Linked DNA regions of Homo sapiens: region 1 is linked to region 2. The links are contacts of gene promoters, found by promoter capture Hi-C in blood cells and fetal thymus (Javierre and others, 2016). All regions are on one chromosome and are shown on one strand. Each heading gives the region's core, a stretch centred on a gene start or on the middle of the fragment in contact. The rest is flanking DNA. Distances are from core to core; before and after follow the strand shown.

Region 1 (4,597 bases), core at 247-2,746, 500 kb before region 2:
GAATGACACAAAGGACTTATCACAAAGTTCTATGATAAACATGTACTGATGATGTCACATACATTATAAAAGCATAAGGTCCTTGAACAGAGGGCATATCTATAGGAAGAGTTAAATCAAAACTATGCTCATATTAAGCTATGACTCCTTTGAACTATTTGAACCATTTTGTGCTGGATCTGCTGCACACTAATCATCTCAGGGCAGTAGGACTATTTTATGGCCTAATGCAAATATTTTTTTTAAAATCTAACCCTGTGATGTAGTATTACGCCAGGTACTTTCAGCAAACAGAGTGGAACCTAACAAAGTGAATGGAAAGAATATTAAGAAAATGCGAATTCTAAATTTGGAACTAAAATTATCTTTCCCAATCACTCAAAAGACTCTTTACTATTCTTCACTTGTCATTTGCCAATGCAGATTCCAAGTTCCTTAGGAAATTTTTAGAGAATTTAGGATGGTCTTATTTTATGTTCCATATCCCCATGTTCCTTTTTTCTACCTCGTGACCAACTCCAACATTTCTGTTAATACAACAGACTAGATGAGATTAAGCTTTCCAGACTATCTTTCAGGTATTCAAGTTAATGGTATTTTTTTAACATTTCCTATTTATTCACCCTACTTTAGAGTCTCTACAGAAAGCATATTTTTTAATCTACAAAGCATTCAAGAGTAAAGACTCTAGAGTCAGAAGACAGATTTAATTCCGATTCTGTCCCTAACTAACTGTTGTAAAACTTGGAAAAGTTCCTCTGATATTTCCTTTTACTTGCAATAGCTTATGTGACTCTAATTTATAGATTATTGCAAAGGTTAAAGGTAAATCTTACAAAGCACAGTGCCCTGCAAATCTAAATTATCAATAAACTCTATCCATTATGATATTGATGATGATGTGACCAAATTAAATCAATAGTTTTTAAAGAAACATTGGATCAGTATCAGTGATTTGCAACTATTAACATGTATTTTAAAATTCCCTGGTGTGCTTGTACCTAGGCCTACAACTGCATGAAGCCTGATTCAGTGGAGAGGAGTGGTAATTCTTCCAGGCAGCCCTCAGATAATGATTTAAGAAATACTGAACCAGTGGACTCCAAATTCCATTGCACGCCCATCACATTATGATTTTGATGTTCTCTTTACCCTCCCATATGTTTGTGTAACCTTCTCCTTTACTTGTCTTGTCTTTCTCTCTGGCCTGGCAGACAGGAGGCTTGCAGTTTTGAAGGGGGTGGTAAGTGGACCAGTCAGGACAGCCCTAATGTCTGCCCTGGGAGCTACAGGTTATCAGAACACCCCTTGACTCCCTCAGTCTTTAGCAGTTATTTCATCTTTTCGATTTTCAGAGTGTCTCTGGTTACTTGCTAAAAAATACATTCCTTTGAGTTTGACTTATAAATGGAGTACAAGAAAAAGTGAGCAAAAACCACTTTCCAATTGTAACAAAGCACTTGCCACAAATGTGACAGAAGCAAACCAAAACCTGAACTGGGTTAAAACAGGAGCTTTCACATTAATTATTCAAAAGGCAAAAATTAAATTATCTATACACACACACACACACAAAAGAGTTTATTTCTGTATATGAGGTAAAACCCTGATTGACGGCTTTGCCTATAATGTTTACAGAATTGCTTCAATTCCTCAATTTCGCTTAAGGTAATGATGTATCAGTCAAAGAAAACAGCACTTCACAAATTTTCCTGGAAAGTGAAAGCCCAGGTTTTTTTTTCATTTTGCAAATAAACTCTTATCATAAATTTTCCTTCTTTTGACCAACTATTTTTTCTGTCAACTGCCTTTGAATTTTTATGAACTCATTTAGCAGCAACTATTCTCCCCGCTATGTATTGAGAGGAGGTAAAATGCAGACACTGACAAAATGGCTGCCTCAGGCAGAGGCCAGTACACGGAGAACAAGACTTGGTTGTGGTTGCCTCCTGTGATTTGTTCTGTGAATCTCAAGTTGGAGTCCAACTGTGAAAATAGTGACAGAAACTCTGACCTTGCTTTTAAAAGCTACAAGGCAAATAGCCCCTCAGACCGGGGTAGTCACATGGCTTTTTCCGACTGTCTCATGTCAGTGCTCCACCCTGGAGGATGTTAGAGCCCAGTATGGGGAAGAGGCCTTCACTTTGCCAAGGAGAAAAACCAAAGCCTTAAAAAAAAGCCATCTTTGAAAAATAGACCTTTGACGGATGAATTGTAATATCTTAATATTAGCATTTGTTATTATAAGTTATGATTTGTAATGCTTTGTCTCAGGTTCTGCATTGAGTAGTAAATGCCCCTGCTTTCCAAGGGATAGAGTGCCTCATAAAAGAAAACACTAATTGAGCAGGTCTTCAGGACCCAATTATCCTACTGATAATTCCAAGGGGATGAACTATCATCATAGTACAAACATGGAATATAGGAAGCTTATCAAAATATTGTTTATATGACAGAAATTATTTCTGATCAAAGCCAGCTCCCAGAATAGAGTCAAATCACACAGCTATTCCTATAGACTATGTAAAGTAGTCCGGCAATGAGAGCTACAGGGTCTTTGTACCAATATTAGCTCAAATTGGGCCCATGTTTGACTCTAAAAACCAGTTGCAGCTATACATTAAGAATTTCAGTATTAATGGTGTTTTTTCCTAAATAAAGCAGCTGTCAAGCTCTGCCCCATTGAATACATATACATCAAAGAAAGCAAGTTTTCTGGTAGAATGGTTGCTTTCTTCAATAGATCATCATTGTGTGACAAAACAATGTTTCCCTATTCACTTACCAAAATGAATTCACATGCTAATTTCAAATCTGTCAGAGCTCAGTGTTCACCACTGAGGTGTCAAATAAAAGTGATTTGTCAGTAGAGATCTTTTCTTTCTAAGTTTATTACATTTCAGGTGCATACTTTCTGTACTCCCTCACAACATCCTAGATTGTCCGTATGACTCAAATCAAAAGTTCTGTATCTCCATCAAGCAAGAAAGTGAATTTCATGGTTATTACAAAGCCAATTTTAATTAATACTTCCTGAAATGGGCTTCCTTTTTCTTTTACTTTTATGTGTGCTAAATATTTTTCAGACAACTCCAGTTTTAAACAACATACAGAACCTATGTTTATTTATAAGAAAATTAAGAAAATATCTATTCTTTTTTTATCATTAAAGAAAGAATTTTTTATTAGTATAGCCTAAGTGTACAGTGTTTTTTTTTTCTTTTTTTTTTTTATTATACTTTAAGTTTTAGGGTACATGTGCACATTGTGCAGGTTAGTTACATATGTATACATGTGCCATGCTGGTGCGCTGCACCCACTAACGCGTCATCTAGCATTAGGTATATCTCCCAATGCTATCCCTCCCCCCTCCCCCCACCCCACCACAGTCCCCAGAGTGTGATGTTCCCCTTCCTGTGTCCATGTGATCTCATTGTTCAATTCCCACCTATGAGTGAGAATATGCGGTGTTTGGTTTTTTGTTCTTGCGATAGTTTACTGAGAATGATGGTTTCCAATTTCATCCATGTCCCTACAAAGGACATGAACTCATCATTTTTTATGGCTGCATAGTATTCCATGGTGTATATGTGCCACATTTTCTTAATCCAGTCTATCATTGTTGGACATTTGGGTTGGTTCCAAGTCTTTGCTATTGTGAATAATGCCGCAATAAACATACATGTGCATGTGTCTTTATAGCAGCATGATTTATAGTCCTTTGGGTATATACCCAGTAATGGGATGGCTGGGTGAAATGGTATTTCTAGTTCTAGATCCCTGAGGAATCGCCACACTGACTTCCACAATGGTTGAACTAGTTTACAGTCCCACCAACAGTGTAAAAGTGTTCCTATTTCTCCACATCCTCTCCAGCACCTGTTGTTTCCTGACTTTTTAATGATTGCCATTCTAACTGGTGTGAGATGATATCTCATAGTGGTTTTGATTTGCATTTCTCTGATGGCCAGTGATGATGAGCATTTTTTCATGTGTTTTTTGGCTGCATAAATGTCTTCTTTTGAGAAGTGTCTGTTCATGTCCTTCGCCCACTTTTTGATGGGGTTGTTTGTTTTTTTCTTGTAAATTTGTTTGAGTTCATTGTAGATTCTGGATATTAGCCCTTTGTCAGATGAGTAGATCAACTGGAAGAAAGGGTATCAGCAATGGAAGATGAAATGAATGAAATGAAGCGAGAAGGGAAGTTTAGAGAAAAAAGAATAAAAAGAAATGAGCAAAGCCTCCAAGAAATATGGGACTATGTGAAAAGACCAAATCTACATCTGATTGGTGTACCTGAAAGTGATGTGGAGAATGGAACCAAGTTGGAAAACACTCTGCAGGATATTATCCAGGAGAACTTCCCCAATCTAGCAAGGCAGGCCAACGTTCAGATTCAGGAAATACAGAGAACGCCACAAAGATACTCCTCGAGAAGAGCAACTCCAAGACACATAATTGTCAGATTCACCAAAGTTGAAATGAAGGAAAAAATGTTAAGGGCAGCCAGAGAGAAAGGTCAGGTTACCCTCAAAGGGAAGCCCATCAGACTAACAGCAGATCTCTCGGCAGAAACCCTACAAGCCAGAAGAGAGTG
Region 2 (5,001 bases), core at 2,315-4,814:
AGAGAGTTTAACAATTGGCCAAAGCTGCCCAAATTATCAGAATCCAAATTCTTTATCTTTCCACTTCTCAGGGCCCCTGCACTGCCCTGCCTCCCAAATATCTAAACACAAACAAGTCAATCAGTGCTAGGACCCGGCCACAGGCCCCTGAAAAGTAAAGAACTGATGCTGCCATCTCCTGTGTCCACAGCTACAATAACACCTGGTAGCCTTACAAATATTTAGATGCAATTTCAAAGTCAGCTCATAGAAAGAGGCATAAAAAAGAAAATGTATTATGGTCTTAATTCCCCTACATTTATAGTTCTCAACTGAGAATGCCAAGCCCTCAGACGCTCCCCCACGCCCTTAACAAAAAAAAATACTTCTTTTCTTCCAGTTAAGCCAAAATAAATATATGTACCCATCATTTATTCAATCAACCACATTTATGGATTACTATGGTGTCCAAGGAAGCTCTGAGCCAAAATAAAAAAGAGAAGGGAGAAGGCTGGCCTCTCCAAAGAGTAAAACCACAGCACACCCAGGGTGGGCCAGAAGCCTGGGAGTCCGCTCCTTGCAGCAGCCCAGGGATGACATGAGAAGAGTAGAAGCTGCATCAGAAAGCAACCTGCCCCCATCATTTCTGAACTTGATAAGGAAGTAGACTGGCAAGTCTTTTAATGCCAGGTCATGAATCTAGATCACAAGGAGACTTTCTTACTTGGGTGTACGGGCCTTTAGCTGACCTAATAGCTACTTCTCTACATGAAGCTACTGGAATGAAGCCCAGGCACTCTACCAACCCACTCTACCATTCCCCTCCCCTACCCACACACAGACATCACACACAGTCAATCCACATAACCTAAAGGAACTTTCAAGTGTTTCTGAGCTATTATTTTGATGCTCCATACTATTAAAACATTTAATAATAACTCTTCCAACTCTTCTAAATCACACTATTGTTCAGACCATGGAAGAAACTCAAATTAGAGGATGACAAACTAATGCCCCCTTGTCCAGCTCTGCCTAAGAAACCAAAATCTTGGGGACACACAGCCATAGATTTGTAAGTCCTTTCCTGATGACAGTAACTACCATTTTATAGTCAAGTATTAAACCTTCCCCTACATAATCATAACTTATTGCCATAACACCCTCAGAAAGTTATTATCATTGCATTGTATTGGTGAATAAAAGGAGGATCTGAGAAAGTAATTACCCAAGCTCACCCTCCTGGCAAATGAGGTTTCTAGAATTCAAACCCACCTCTGAGATCATCTTCCTACTACACTAGCCTGCCTCTATTCCCCAAAGAGACTGGCACTTAATAAACACTCTGTTAGTAATGAATTCAACCACAGGAGAGAGTAAGCCTTGGCATTTTTCTGACTGGAGGAATCTTCCTACCTGCACCCACTCTAGGGACTATATGACAATGACTTTCGGCCTCGGGAGACGGCCATCTCCACCTGAACTGGGCCCAGCACATAGGTGAGCCTTGAGCATTCCACTCTTCCCACTCTTTCTTGCCCCAGAATCCCAGAGCTGGAGCACTGAGGCAATTCCGGAACAGCATCTACTGTCTGATATGTGGGGATAGGAGTGGAAAGGGGAAAAGAACAGCTTGTGCCTTCGGGAATTTGCTCCCTGAAGTCCCTGCAGTGATTTCGTTTGTGTCTGGCTTCCTACAAACAAAGCAGAACAATGAGAGGAAGGAATACCAGGAGGCACCAGCGCTAGCTGGAAGGAGAGGAAGTTTGTGGTGCTCGCCAGCAGGGCGGTTCCCGGCCACTAGTGTACTGCAGCTGGGCAGGCACACTCCTCGCAGACCCGGCGCTCTCCAAGGAGAAAAGAAAGTTAGTGGGCTTGGGGTACGTTTCCCTTCTTTTCCTAGAAGAGGGTGGCAGGGGGGCTGGCTCAGAAAGAAACCATCACTGACCAACACTTGGGGTACTCTGTCAAAATGCTGCTCCTTCCATACTGAGTCTCTTTGCTCCTCCTCTTTCCCCCAGTCAACCTGGGGTTAAGTGGGAAGGGGAGTAAGGCAACTCCAGGGGATGCCTTCCAAACTCCGGGAGAGGGAAAGCACAGGAATTGGGAGAAGACGTGAAGGCAGAGCTTGAACTCCTATGTACCCGGTGACACAAGACTGCTCTGAGGGTGGCGCCCGCTGCTTCTCCCGGGCGCCCCGCCAGCCGCTCTCCCTGGCAGTGGCGCCCTTTCCTCGCCCTCTGCCCGCCCAAGAGCTGCTGGCCCAGAGCAGCCGCATTCCCGACCCTCCAAGGCGAAGATCCCCTGGATTCACCCCCTCACTGGCCTTTCCGCCTAACTGACTGAAACCCGGCTCCCCAGGCACAGATTTTCCAGCCTCCCTAAGAAATGAAAGGTTCGCGTGCCCTTCACCTCCCTCCCTGCTTTCCAGCGTCCTCAGCGCCTCCCCGAACAGCCAGACAGTGGAGCGCCCCGTGTTGGGGAGAGGAGGGGAGCAGACGCCTCCGAAGTTTGGAAAAGTTACACAGGGGCTGGGGACTGGGGGTAGGGGGTGCCGACCGGGAGAAGGGGAGGGTCACCTGTTGAGGGAGGGAGGGAAAGTTTGCCTGGCCCCGCCTCCTCCTCGGGGCACCCCGCTCCCAGCCGCGCCGCGCCTCCCCACCTGGCCCGCGCTCACCTTGAGGCCGCGGATCTCGCCGAGGTGCAGCTGCAGGCGGCGGTTCACCTCGCGGATGAGGTTGCTGTGGTCCAGCATCGCGCTCACCTTCTCCGCCTCGGCGCGCCGCAGGCTGCGGATCAGCTCCTCCTTGCTCCACTGCAGCAGCTCCTCGTCCGACACTTTGGACAGGTCCTCCACCGGCGCGGGCGGGGCCGCGGACGAGCCGGCCGGGGCTGGGGAACAACTTTCCGCCGCCGCCGCAGCCGCCGCCGCGCCTCCGGCCGCCTTCGACATGGTATCCGCGGGGTGGCAGGTGCAAGTGGGTGGAAGAGGCGAGGCGACTCCCGAAGGCGCGGGCGCGGCGAGGCCGCCTCCGCCCACACCCCTGTGCGCTCCGGCGAGTCAGCGGCACCGCCCAGGGGCCGCTGGGTTGGGGCGGCGGGGGTCGCGCTGGGTGGCCATCCTACCTCGCCATCCCCGCGCGCGCGCCCGCGCTCCCCCAGGGCCCGGCAGCCAGCCGCTTGCTGCTGCCGAGGCCCGTCCCAACTCCGCGCAAGTCCATGGTGAGGGGCACTGGGGAGCCCGGGGCTGCCGCGGGAAATCCTCGGGGACAGCGGGGGAGCTGCACCGCCGTTCCCCTGCCCTCTCCTCCGCCCTAAGCCGAGACTGTCGCCCCCCGCACTCTCTGCCCTGCACACAGGCGTGCACGCACACGCACTTTCCTCCCCCTTGCCCAGCTGCAGCCCCCGGCTTCTCCCCTCTCCTAGCTTGGAGGGCGCGCCGGGCACCGCGGCGCCTCCCCGGCTGCTCTAGCGACGCCGCCGCGGCTGCCCGAAGGCTGCTGCGCTCCTCCTGCCGCCTTCGCTGCGCCCGCGGCCGCTCCTAGGCTGCTCCGGAAAGCCTTCGATTTGCAGAGCGGAGTCGAGAAGGGGTGGAGGGTGGGGGACCGGCTGGAGGAGGAGCCTGGAGCTGGGGCCACCCGTAACCCGCAGCAGCTCCCGCATGGGCTGGACGCAGCTGCCACTCGACCGCTGCCCGGGCCCTCGAGGTGCGCTCCCGGCTGTCCTGCCCGGGAGGGCTGGGGGCGCGGCTCTTTCTGCGCCCGGGCGGGTGGGGCTGGAATGGGGAGAAGGTGAGGAGCTGTGGCCGCCCGGTCTTTGGGAGGCTCGCGCGCGCCACCGTGTGGCGGAAGAAGCTCCCTCCTCTGCCCTCTGCACACCGGCCTTGTCACCAGGCAGGGGAAACAGCTGCTGACCCAAATGCGAGGTGCTTCGTATTTGGAGGGATCGGGGATCAGGAAAGATGGGGTAGCAGGACCTGAGGGATAACCAGTTATTTGCACTTTGGAGAATGGGAGGAGAGGCAAATGGCAAAAACGGGGGTTGGGGAAAGGGGCAGCTTAAGAAAATCCAAATGGTCTGAAAAGGGCGAAAAGAGGCGTCAGGGCACTGCTCTTATGGGGCTACCCATCCCCACCCCCCACTCTCGCCCCACCCCTAGGCCTTTGTGTTTTCTAAAAATCCACTACTCTATGAAGAAGCTTCGGGAGAAGGTACTGGATCTTTTAAATTTTTATTTGAAAAATATCAAAGCCTTTAGGCGAAAATAAAATACCTTCATCTCCTGCTTCCTGAAACCTGGATTTTAAGGTCAGCACAGTCACCTCCCCTCGGAGCAAAGCAAGCCCCCTCAGGCAAGCTGAAATGCCAGCCAAGGAGATTTCCATTTTCTTCTATGCCGCAGGCTGCCAGGCGTTTACTGGGTCGGCTTTTTTATGATGGTTATTTCTGGAAGGAGGAAGTCTGAGTCCCTGGCTTCTATCTTTGGGCTATCCTCTTGTAAAGTTGGGTGGAATCGTCTCTGGGCTGAAAACATGCTTTTGCCTAAAGAGGTGGATGCCCTTGACCACCGCATGTTATTTCCAGTGGGGTACAGGGCCGGAAAATGGCAAGGATCTACCCCCACCGGGTTTCAGTTAACCCGGGTGCAGAGGGAATAATCTCTATCTGGTAGGATGATAATCAAAATCAGTCCCTTCACCCGCCGGTCAGTGCGTGTCCCCTATTGGGGACACTGAGACCTGGCTCCCGGGAGAGGCAAGGAAATGTGGTACTGCTTACGGTGACCAAATGGCCTTAACATTCCCCTCAGCTTAACTAAACTTTAGACAGGTTTCTTCCTAACTGTAGGCCCCAGACCTTCCTTTTCTCAGAGCATTTACTTTAGCCAACTTCCATTGGTGAATGTTTCCTCTGACCCTTTGACATGTAAATCTCTCCGCCTCTTGCTGGGTTTTACAGCCTGGGGATCTTTCTCAGGGATCTGTGAGGCATCCCTTTGAAATGTAATCATCAAGGAAAAAAGGG

The links. The method cuts DNA at HindIII sites, captures the fragments that hold promoters and counts their contacts. A CHiCAGO score of 5 or more calls a contact.
Region 1: a contact is called between a fragment that was not itself captured here and the fragment with the promoter of CCDC85A in region 2, in 1 of 17 cell types (endothelial precursors). The highest score is 5.2, in endothelial precursors.

The regions. Positions count from the first base shown.
Region 1 is chr2:56,682,699-56,687,295 of GRCh38, reverse strand. No RefSeq gene overlaps it. Among named protein-coding and RNA genes, the nearest start is that of CCDC85A, 500 kb to the right of the region's middle. The HindIII fragment of the contact is 1,871 bases long and covers 561-2,431 here.
Region 2 is chr2:56,182,553-56,187,553 of GRCh38, reverse strand. It overlaps CCDC85A (coiled-coil domain containing 85A), which reads right to left and starts at 3,564. Exons shown (of 6, transcript NM_001080433.2): 1 at 2,654-3,564. The coding sequence starts at 2,929. It overlaps LOC100129434 (a long non-coding RNA gene), which reads left to right and starts at 1,784. Exons shown (of 3, transcript NR_125368.1): 1 at 1,784-1,856. RefSeq lists a silencer at 3,565-3,894. The HindIII fragment of the contact is 6,654 bases long and covers 1-4,177 here.